Linked DNA regions of Homo sapiens: region 1 is linked to region 2. Evidence: promoter capture Hi-C in human tissues and cell types (Jung and others, 2019). All regions are on one chromosome and are shown on one strand. Each heading gives the region's core, a stretch centred on a gene start or on the middle of the fragment in contact. The rest is flanking DNA. Distances are from core to core; before and after follow the strand shown. Region 1 overlaps INO80 (INO80 complex ATPase subunit). Region 2 holds the start of SPINT1 (serine peptidase inhibitor, Kunitz type 1).

Region 1 (5,515 bases), core at 146-2,645, 160 kb after region 2:
TCTGTAATCCCAGCTACTTGGGAGGCCGAGGCACAAGAATTGTTTGAACCGGGGAGGCGGAGGCTGCAGTGAGCTGAGATCATGCCACTGCACTCCAGCCTGGGTGACAGGGAGAGACTGTCTCACACACACAAAAAAAAAAAAAAAAAAAAAGAAATGGCTACTGTAAGCAATGAGGAATACAGGCTGGTGGATTTTTTTCTACATACCTATTATCCATTGAGGAGGATCTTGGTTCATACTTAGAAATGATTTCTTTTATTATCCAAAGAAATAGGCACTGGTGTCATAAGAAAGCATACTTCAAACATACAAACTATCAGGTATATTCTCTTTTTCTCTCCCAGACACATAGATCTGAATTATGATAAGCAGATTTAGTAACTTCTTAAAATGGCAGGAATTACATCTTGATTCCTTAACAATCTCAGATGTCCTGGCATTTAAAAAAAAAAAAAAACTTACCATTTCAAGCACTAGAGGGAAATTAAAAAGATAATTTTTGTAATTCCCATGAACATTACCTGTTCTGAAAATCAGCAACCATGTCTCGCCTCTCCGAGATCTTGGATGAGCCATCAAGCCTCATGTAGGTATGCTTCCTGTAAACCATGTATTCCTGCCAACCAGGATAAAAGGACACAGTAAATCTGATGCAAATTACTGTATTCTGATTTCCACAGGCATCTACCCATCTTCTACCTTGTCCACACTGGAGGCAAGCCATTATAACCAGAATGGGGAGAGAGTAACCCCAAGAGTACAAGAAGTTAATCTGTAAATGAGTTTACTGCCAATGTGTGAAAATCCAGGGCAATCTGAAGATTATAATCACTCTCAATTTCAGTTTGGAACCTAATCTTATTCCTGTAAATTCCTGTAGGTTTCATTAAAAAAAAAAAAAAAAAAAATTCCACAAACCAAAATAGTTTTTCAGTCATCAACCAGATATCTTTCACAGCTATGAAAATACCTACTTTTTTTGTCAGTGAATAACATTCACTGAAACGAATGTGTTTCCCCAGAGCAAACCTTTACTGATTAAAATGCTTAAATTTACAGCCTAAGCTTCCTTCTCCCAACAGAGCATGCATCACTGTTATGGGAGGCCTAAGCATCAGAGTAAAACAAAAGACAAGGTAATTTTCTATGGCAGAGAATGTTCTTGACATCATCAAGAGGAATTACAACTTTTAAGAATGAAGAGACTCCAAAAGATACAATAGAGAGACTGCCTCTCCATTCTTAGAAATTGCAATTCTTCTTATAGTTATGTCCAAATGAACATTTATTTCCTCTTTTGTTATCTCTGATTATGCTACAAAAAGTCCACTTGTAGAAGAACTAGTATCAAAAACTCAACACAGCTGCCTATTTATAAGAAACAGCATAAAATAGTTGATTCGGTTCTAAAATAACTTCTCTATTGAAAAAGACTAATCATTTCTACATTTGGGAAATGTTTGTGTTAATTAGTTTTCTGTGGTCAAATGTTCTTATACTGCAATATTTTCATATGTAACTCTTATACTTGGTGGGGCATTTTAGCACATCAGGTTGCTGTAGTTTGGAATATCTGGTGCAGCGTATGTGACAGCCTATTCTTAGATGGAGTGAGTGCCAAGAACTTGGCAGAGGTCTCTGGCTAGGGTACATGTGAAGCGAAGCTGGTCAACAAAGTAGACAAGCTCATTGACATATGCATCTTCATTGTGTTTTATATTTGGTTTAATTTTGATTTTTTAATTTTTTACCATTTCTGTCTCAAAGTGGTTCCTTAAGAGCTGTGATAATCAAAGAGAAGCATAAAATAAAGTGAGCTTCAAGTTCATACTTAGTGGTATTGCTATATCGTAGGACTGAACTAATGGCAGAAGGGTAGGGGGCGTTTTGGATAAAAAGGACTTCAAGAAAGAAGGTATAAAATGATAGCAAGATGATGGTCCTTAGAGGCTTGCTATACCTTTTGCAGCTAATCCAATCACAGAACGTTGCAATCAGAACAACAAAGTAACTAGACAATACCAAGACAGTTTACAGAGACACCCAAAACACAGATTATAATTTTAGCAAAAAGGTAGGCTTCCTGCACAGGCACTCTTTTTTTTTTTTTCTTTTTTTTTTTTTTTTTTTTAGACACTGTCTTGCTCGTCACCCAAGCTGGAGTGCAGTGGCACAATCGTGGTTCACTGCAACCTCCTCCTCCCAGGTTCAAGCGATTCTCCTGCCTCAGCCTCCCTAGCAGCTGGGATTACAGGCAACTGCCACCACACCTGGCTAATTTTTCTATTTTTAGTAGAGATGGGGTTTCGCCATGTTGGCCAGGCTGGTCTTGAACTCCTGACCTCAGGTGATCTGCCCACCTCAGCCTCCCAAAGTGTTGGGATTACAGGTGTGACCCACTGAGCCAAGCCTGATTTGCCTTTTAAACTGAACTTCTAGCCTCATAAAAGCATTGATGAATGAATCTTCTAGTAAATTTTGCTGTTTATATATTTATATATCAAGGCCAGCACAACCCCGGGGATATTAATCCTAGACCATAATCAAACCAACCCTGATTATAGAGAGCCTGTTACTGAGGCAACAGAAGTGAATTATTCCCTTCCACTGCTTCAAGTCTTAGCTCTTGAACTAAGACGAGCAGTGGGACTTCAGGCTTTAGTAAATTTAGAGTCTATTTCAGTAAATAGCTTCAAAAAAAAAAAAAACAAGAAAATGGACATGGAAAGATGTGTTAAAAGGCTGAATAGAGCGACATCTACATCCTCACACTATAGGAAAACACCTAAAAGACAAAGGTTGGGGCCAGGTATGGTGGTTGGCTGGACGAAGTGGCTCACGCCTGTAATCCCAGCACTGTGGAAGGTCGAGGTGGGTGGATCACTTGAGATCAAGAGTTCGAGACAAGCCTGGCCAACATGGCGAAACCCCATCTCTACTGAAAATACAAAAATTAGCTGGGTGTGCTGGTATGTGCCTGTAGTCCCAGCTACTCAGGAGGCTGAGGTGGGAAGATCATCTGAGCCCAGGGAGTTTGAGGCTGCAGTGAGCCAAGATCATGCCACAGCACTGCAGCCTGGGCAACAGGGTGATTGTCTCAAAATAAACAAACAAAACAGGTGAATGGATAAAGAATATGTGATATATATACATACACACACACACACACACACACACACACACGAATATTATTCAGCCTTAAAAAGAAGGAAATCAACATGAATAAACCTGATTCTGTTAAGTAAAATATGCCAGACATGGAAAGACAAATACTGCATGGTTCAACTTATATGTGCAAGCTTAAAAAGTTAAAACTCATAAAAGTAGAGAGTAGAAGGGTGGTTGCCAGGGGGTAGGGGAAATGGGGAGATGTTGGTCAAAGGGTACAAAGGTTCAGTTATGCAAAATGAAAAAATCCTGGAGATCTAATGTACATCATGGTAACTAGAGCTAATAATATTGTATCGTATATGTGAACTCTTCTAAGAGAGACAATATCACATGGTCGACCTTAAATATATACAATTTTTATTTATCAAGCATACATCAATAAAGCTGTAGCTGGAAAAAGCTTCAAAGATTATTCTGATAGCCTATATCAGCAGCTGAGAGCAACCACTAGAAAGGGAAGGCAAGGCAGTTTCCCTTTGAACCTTGCCATTCAGCATGGCCCTCAAATGGGCAGCACTTGTACCACCTGAGGTCTGTTAGAAATGCAGAACTGAGGGACACATCCCTTACCTAGTAAATCATAATCTGCATTTTATTTTTATTTTTTTTGAGATGGAGTCTCGCTCTGTTGCCCAGGCTGGAGCGCAATGGTGAGATCTTGGCTCACAGCAACTTCCACTTCCGGGGTTCAAGCGATTCTCCTGCCTCAGTCTCCCAGGTAGCTGGATTATAGGCATGCGCCACCATGCCTGGCTAAGTTTGTATTTTTAGTGGAGATGGGGTTTCACCATGTTGGTCGGGCTGATCTCAAACTCCTGACCTCAGGTGATACATGCGCCTTGGCTTCCCAAAGTGCTGGGATTGCAGGCATCAGCCACCACACCTGGCATAACGTGCGTTTTAATAACATTTGATTCGAAAGCATTAATTTTGAGAAACACTATTGTAGAACATATGCGGTTTTTGTTTTTAAGTTCCTTATACTGTTCTTTTTTTTTTTTTATTATACTTTAAGTTTTAGGGTACATGTGCACAATGTGCAGGTTAGTTACATATGTATACATGTGCCATGCTGGTGCACTGCACCCACTAACTCGTCATCTAGCATTAGGTATATCTCCCAATGCTATCCCTCCCCCCTCCCCCCACCCCACAACAGTCCCCAGAGTGTTATGTTCCCCTTCCTGTGTCCATGTGTTCTCATTGTTCAATTCCCACCTATGAGTGAGAATATGCAGTGTTTGGTTTTTTGTTCTTGCGATAGTTTACTGAGAATGATGATTTCCAATTTCATCCATGTCCCTACAAAGGACATGAACTCATCATTTTTTATGGCTGACATATGCGTTTTGGTTTTGTTTTGTTTTTGAGGCAGGGTCTTGCTCTATTGCACAGGATGAAGTATAGTTTTCTTGGATCACTGCAGCCTCGACCTCCTGGGCTCAAATGATCCTCTCACCTCAGCCTCCCAAGTAGTTGGAACTATAGGCATGCACTACTATGCCCAGCTAATTTTTAAATTTAAATTTAAATTTTTATAGAGATGGGGGTCTTGCTATGTTGTCCAGGCTGGTCTTGAACTCCTGGGCTCAAGTGATTCTCCTCCCTTGGCCTTCCAAAGTGCTAGGATTACAGGTGTAAGCCACTGTGCCCGGCCAAACATACCTGTTTTAAAAGCATCGGAACACTTTCTTCAAGCAAATTCTTACACGGAACCCCTCTAATATATAAAATAGATAAAAGCATCGCTATCCTGACTGATAAAGAGTGGCCATCTCCGCTTAATATCTACTGGTCCTCTAACACATCCCATCAGTCTGAAAACCACTGTTTTACTATACAAGTTGAGAAGACAATGCTCTGCTTGCATGCCACTGATTAAAAAGTAGGACTTACAGATCACATCCACACACCACATCAGTGGCATGCAAACAGAGCTGCCAGCATAACTCAAGATAGTTTTACTGAGCATTCACTAACTGCCAGTCACTGTTCTATTTTACCTGGTTATGTTTATCCAATCATTATGGCAACCTTTAAGGTAGGTGCTATTAAATATTTTTTTAATTTCTCTTTTAATTTTTTTTCCCCCAGGATCAGAGATCACAATCAAAATCTTCATGATCTGTTCTGTAACAGCTTCCAATCACCTCCTTTTTAAATTTTTTTTTTTTAGATTTTTAATTTTCATGGGTATATAGTAAGGGTAGGTGTTATTATTGTCCCTCCTATCTTACAGATGTTAAGGTCCCTAAAGTGACACAGGCAGTAGGTGGCAGACCTAGGACTGAAACTCAAGCAGATTGGTTCCAGAGTCCATGGCTTAACCCTCCTACTGTTT
Region 2 (6,116 bases), core at 698-3,197:
AGCAAGTTGAATCTGAGGTGAGGGCAGAACTTCCAGATGAAGTCAGAATTGCAAAGGCCATAAAGCCCAGGGTTTAAGCACTGAAGCCATGGAATTGGCCTGCCTGGGCTCCAATCCCTACTCTGCCGCTTCAATGCTGAATGACCTGACAAGTCAGTTTACCTGTCTGAGCCTGTTTGCTCATTTGTAAAATGGGGCTAAAAATACTACCTCCCTAGGTTTGTTTTGAGTATAGGGTAATATGTGGGCAGTGCTTAGGAACAGAGTTTGGGCATTGTCAGTGCTGAATTCATGTTGGTTTTTATAATGGTGTGTATAATGGATGTAATGATAAATTTATGGTGATGTAATATTACCATAAGGTAATATTTTCCTGTATTAAGATTCTTGAGGTCAGGCACAGTGGCTCACGCCTATAATCCTAGCACTTTGGGAGGCCGAGGTGGGTGGATCACCTGAGGTCAGGAGTTCAAGACCAGCCTGGCCAAAAAGGTGAAACCTCGTTTCTACTAAAAATACAAAAATTAGCTCGGCGTGGTGGTGCCCACCTGTAAGCCCAGCTACTTGGGAGGCTGAGGCAGAATTTCCTGAATCTGGAAGGCAGAGGTTGCAGTGAGCCGAGATCGTGCCATTGCACTCCAGCCTGGGTGACAGAGCAAGACTCCGTCTCAAAAAAAAAAAAAAAAAAATAAATAAATAAATAAATAAAGATTCTTGAATGTGTTAGCCATAAGGGGAAATCAAATCACAACAAAACCCTTTCTTCCCAGTGACTGCACAATCATTTTCTTCATTCCCAGCATACCACCATTGTTGTATATCCACCAGTGTGCCAGGGTCTGTGGATAAACCCTAAACATCCAGAGAAGGGGAGACAGGCCCCAGATTCCCACCCCAACACGCATCATGTGAGCAGCTGGAGGATGTTGCAGTTCAGCAAAATCCAAGGGTTGGCCACAGGATCTGCTAGGCAAAGCTGCTCTGGATGAGAAACTGGGAAGAATGTTCCCATTGGTTTGGGGGTTGTTAAGCCATCAGGAAAAGGTTTGGAATCTGTATTTTAAGAGAGCATGCTATGTGATTCCTTCCTCCAGCCCTGCCTTCATCTGTCTTTCACCTGTTCAGACCCTTGCCGTAGAGAATGGTCTCTTAAGAGTTTTTTACTCAGGAGGAGCAATGAGCTTGGCTTCAAGGAGTCCACTGTTTCGTGAAGGGCATTAACTCAGCTACTTGGTGAACTGGAACCTCCAGGCTTCCAAGGATGACATTTCCCTGGAAGAAAGTAGCCAGCAGCGTCCCCTTTGTGAAAGAGAGGAAGCCTGGGCTCCAGGGAAGGGGGCAACAGTCCAATGAGCCATAGCAGGGAATGGACCGAACTGTACATACAAGATGAGGAGGGGCCTCGAACAACAGGGAAGCCCCGTGGAGCACGCAGGGGAGCCTGGACGCGGGGAATCGCCTCCGTTTCTCACCCTGACAGCAGGGAGGGCTTCCCGGAGCTGACAGTGAGGCAGACATCCCGGATCCCTGTTATCACAGGTGCAGCCACGCAACTTTTGGGTTACCTTCCCGCCACGAAATGGAAATGATTTCCTGAGGGCCGGAAAGATCATTTGCATCGGGCCTCAGGTCTGGGGCTGGGAAAGCAGGCCCCGGCCGGAAAGGAAGACTGGAGGCCGCCGCCCCAGAGGCCGGACCCTCGCGTCCCGGCCGCATCCCCTCCCGGCTGGGTATGCGCTTCGGGCGCGGGGCTCCCTCGCGAGGCTGGACTGGGTGGAGCCCGAGAGCCCCTCCGGGGAGCTGGCTGCCGGGGAGGCACCGGGGCTGCGGGGCCGCGGGGCGGGCCGGGCCTGGAGCTCCGCGCTAGAGGCGGCCGCAGCGCACCGGGCGTGGGCGGGGCCGGCAGCGCAAGGGTGAATGTCGGCCCCGCCCCGACGGCGCTGACTCAGTTTCACCAGAAACCAGGGGGAGAAGGCGGCCGAGCCCCAGCTCTCCGAGCACCGGGTCGGAAGCCGCGACCCGAGCCGCGCAGGAAGCTGGGACCGGAACCTCGGCGGACCCGGCCCCACCCAACTCACCTGCGCAGGTAACCCGGGCCCCCGCGCGCAAGGCCGAGGCGCAGGCGGAGCGGGCTGGAGCATGTCCGGCCCTTTGTTCTGCGCTCGTGCGTGTGTCCGGGTACTTGAGCTCCCTAGCGGTCCGCCTGTCCGTCTGTCTGGCTGCCGGGTCCCTGGAGGGCGCGTGGGAGGGCCGGGCCCGTGCGCCCTCTTCGATCCTGGGGTGCTCCGGTCCCTCCTCCCCGCCACTTCCTCCCGGCCGGCCCGCCTCCTCCAAAGTCTCCCGGGCTGATCAGGTGTGTCTCCTCCTCTGTCCCCTCCCTTCTTCTCAGGTCACCAGCACCCTCGGAACCCAGAGGCCCGCGCTCTGAAGGTGACCCCCCTGGGGAGGAAGGCGATGGCCCCTGCGAGGACGATGGCCCGCGCCCGCCTCGCCCCGGCCGGCATCCCTGCCGTCGCCTTGTGGCTTCTGTGCACGCTCGGCCTCCAGGGCACCCAGGCCGGGCCACCGCCCGCGCCCCCTGGGCTGCCCGCGGGAGCCGACTGCCTGAACAGCTTTACCGCCGGGGTGCCTGGCTTCGTGCTGGACACCAACGCCTCGGTCAGCAACGGAGCTACCTTCCTGGAGTCCCCCACCGTGCGCCGGGGCTGGGACTGCGTGCGCGCCTGCTGCACCACCCAGAACTGCAACTTGGCGCTAGTGGAGCTGCAGCCCGACCGCGGGGAGGACGCCATCGCCGCCTGCTTCCTCATCAACTGCCTCTACGAGCAGAACTTCGTGTGCAAGTTCGCGCCCAGGGAGGGCTTCATCAACTACCTCACGAGGGAAGTGTACCGCTCCTACCGCCAGCTGCGGACCCAGGGCTTTGGAGGTGAGGAGGGTGCCAAGATGGATGGGTTTGGAGAGACTCAAAAAAGGGACTGGTTATGGGGTCCTAGGGGAGACGAACATCAGAGAGGAGTTAAGGAGAGTTCACTTTTTTTTTTCTTTTTCTTTCTTTTTTTTTGCGACGGAGTCTCGCTCTTGTCGCCCAGGCTGGAGTGCAATGGCGCAATCTCTGGTTGCTCACTGCAACCTCCGTCTTCCACGTTCAAGTGATTCTTCTGTCTCAGCCTCCGGAGTAGCTGGAACTACAGGCACCCGCTACCAGACCCGGCTAATTTTTTTTTTTTTTTTTTTTTTTTTTTTTTTGGTACAGACGGGGTTTCACTATGTTGGCCAGGCTGGTCTTGAACTTCTGAACTCAGGTGATCCACCCACCTTGGCCTCCCAAAGTGCTGGGATTATTTCTACCTGAAGCCCTCCTTAGAAGTAGGCAGTACAGCCGAATCAAGCCTGGTGATCAATGGGGTGACAGATGTCACAGCCAGATCGCCTTCACATCGGTAGTAGGCAGTACAAACAGTAAACAAATGAAAGGGGACATGAGTAGGGAGGGCAGGGCCCAGGCTCTGGCTCCTGAACTCAGGATGTTCAGAGGTGATGGGCTGGTGCTCACAGGGAGGCCTTTGGCTCTGGGCTGTGTGTACTGGAGGGGAGAGGAAGTCCCCAGGACTCCTGACCTCTGGCACTGATAGGCTGATTGAAGGAGTGAGCTGTCTGGATGGTCTGGTGACTAGAAAGGCACCTTGGCCAAGCACTGGTCTGGGCACACCGATGCCCTGTCAGGTGAGCCTGGCCATAGTCTCCTCCACTGGCTGGACTTGGGACTGCTTAGCATCTCTCTACCCCCTAGGAATGCATTGGCCTTTTGGTGGTCCAGGAAGACTGCCAGATCCGAGACTAGAAAACAAGCCCAGTCTGCGGTTGATCCAAAGGGAGAGAAGTGATGTTGTAGGCACAGAAGCCTAGAGGCTCTGGGGTGGGGGATGAGGAGGGTTGTGGGGTGAGTCAGCCTGTTGGTATGTATACCTAGTAGGGAAGGGATGTCAGCTGTCCAGGCAGGTGTGTGTGCATGCGCATGAGCCAGACAGGGCTCTCCCTGCTTAGAATCTGGTAGCCAAACCTTGTTTACTTCCATAGATAAAGGCAAAGCGGAGGCCAGGGCTCCTCCTCTTTCTTCCCCGGACTGAACTGTCTGCTGGGATCAGGGCCAGTCCAGAGCCTTGGTTCCCCCTTTCTCTCTACCTGCTGTTCTGGCCAGGTGGGGCTCCAGGGCAGGGGTAGGTCACCTCTCATAACCTCTGTGAGCACTTTACAGCTTACTGATTGCTGTGCCACACATCCTCTCACTCAGGCCTCATCACAACAACTTCCAAAAAGGGTGCTACTAGCAGTCATCCCACTTTTTAGATTAGGAAACTAAGACTCCCATGTTAAAGAATTTGCCCAGGGTAACACTGCCCATAAATGGTAGGCCTGAGATTCACCCCAGGGGAGACCTCCAAAAAAAGTCCTGTGCTGTTTTTCACACAAGACCATCTCTCTGGTAAAAACCTAGCATTCTGACCCAAAATAGCCCAGTGGATAACAGAACCGGGGATTGGGGAGTTTGGGGGCCAGAACTGGGCTGGGGCCACATCTGGGGGTGGTCTCCGTTCTGGAAAGTGGAGAAAGGGCTTTCCTCCGCAGACTTTTCCTGGGCTAGTCTCTCTGCCAGGCTAAGGAGGGTCCTCTTTCCTCCCTATCCTTCCAGTAGCTCTCCTGGGTCTCTGAGGAGAGGCGAGATGGGGATTCCTGTGGATGGGAGGGGGACATATCTGAGGGCCAGTCTGGGCCACCAAGTCCCACTGAACCAGGGCTGCAGCCTGTTCCACAAGGAAGTAGCAGAAAGTGTAGGTGGTGATGACTCTTACTGACCTGAGTTGCTCATGCCCTTCCTGCTCCACAGAGGCCCCATGGGAGTCCCTCTCCAGAGCCAGAGTGTGAAATTCTGGAGTCTGGTCAGGGAGCTTAGCTGGACTATGGCCCCATGGTCTTGAGACCAGCCATCCTCATCTGGAAACCCCCAGGACCTGCCTGTTTGCCACAAGAGAGGGTGGAGTGGGGATTTCCTGGGACATTGAGGGAGGCAGGTAGGGCTTGGACTTAGTATGAGCTCCAGGCCATTCTAGGCCATTCTTAGAGTGCTGCAGTGCTTTGGGAAGAGGAAAAAGCTGTGTGTGTGTCAAGGGGTTTATTCTCACCTGGGTCCAGTTAGAGAGGTTGGAGGTGGGTAATGACAGGGTAGAGCCATTAAGGGCTAGGGTGGATGAGGTGGGTTGGGTGACGTGGGTCACGGGCACTGAGAGCTTCCAAACCTTTGATTCTCCTATTGCATAGATAAATGCTCCCCAGAATGGGTTTGTTTGTTCCTCCTTCTGCCTGTGGCCAGGCCAGGCCAGTACAGATTCCTGCAGCTGGAGGCGGAGCAGCTTGCACTTCCTCTTCTCCCCTTCTCTTCCCCCACCTCTCCTCCTCCCCAGTCCTATGAAGGAGTGGCTTAGGAGGCGGAGTCTGCACTTCCCTGAGGTCCTGAGACCTGGTAACTAACTGGGGGAGGGGCTGGTTTTATTGCCACTCTAGCCCTTTGCTCTCTTGCGGGTGGGAGGAAGGGAGTGGTAAGGCAAGGTACCTGCTCCTTGGTCCTGGGGGCTGGGGCTTGGAGAGGACTGAGTTGTGTTGGGGTGGGATTCAGCCCCTGATTCAGCTCAAAGTCTGATGCATCACTCTGCATGCTACTTCCACTCTGGGGGCCTGGTGGGGCTAGCCTGTCTGTCTGCTAGGCAGACTGCTAAGTAGTCTGTCTTCTTTCTACAAAATGCAAGGAGGGAGGACTGCGCTCCTCCCAGCTCGCTACTCCCTTGGCAGGTGTTCTCAGGGTACTCTCCTGTTTGTCAGCCAAGCCCCTGGGCTGGGAGGTTGCCTCCAGACAGCCACTTTTCGTTCCTGCTCATCCCTGTCTTATTTTCCCTAATCCCTGGAACCCAGTTCTCTTTTTACTATTTTTGTAGGCCTCTGAAACATTCAACATGTTTCTTCCTGAAATCTCTCCCTTCCCATCCCTTTTGCTGTCATTGTGCATCCTGGTCTTCTCAGCCCCAGAACCACCTTCTGTGAGTCCCCCATTGGCTCTGCTT

What was found. The method cuts DNA at HindIII sites, captures the fragments that hold promoters and counts their contacts. A contact is called where the count stands out against the background at its distance.
Region 1: a contact is called between a fragment that was not itself captured here and the fragment with the promoter of SPINT1 in region 2, in 2 of the 25 tissues and cell types used here (bladder and spleen).

Annotation. Positions count from the first base shown.
Region 1 is chr15:41,005,069-41,010,583 of GRCh38, forward strand. INO80 (INO80 complex ATPase subunit) reads right to left here. Exons shown (of 36, transcript NM_017553.3): 28 at 525-619. Among named protein-coding and RNA genes, the nearest start is that of INO80-AS1, 9.0 kb to the right of the region's middle. The HindIII fragment of the contact is 4,085 bases long and covers 1-3,438 here.
Region 2 is chr15:40,842,101-40,848,216 of GRCh38, forward strand. SPINT1 (serine peptidase inhibitor, Kunitz type 1) reads left to right here and starts at 1,948. Exons shown (of 11, transcript NM_003710.4): 1 at 1,948-2,086; 2 at 2,390-2,929. The coding sequence starts at 2,455. It overlaps SPINT1-AS1 (SPINT1 antisense RNA 1), which reads right to left and starts at 2,424. Exons shown (of 2, transcript NR_146468.1): 1 at 2,079-2,424. RefSeq lists silencers at 1,386-1,568, 1,730-1,959, 2,040-2,099, 2,390-2,629 and an enhancer at 1,521-2,092. The HindIII fragment of the contact is 27,771 bases long and covers 1-6,116 here.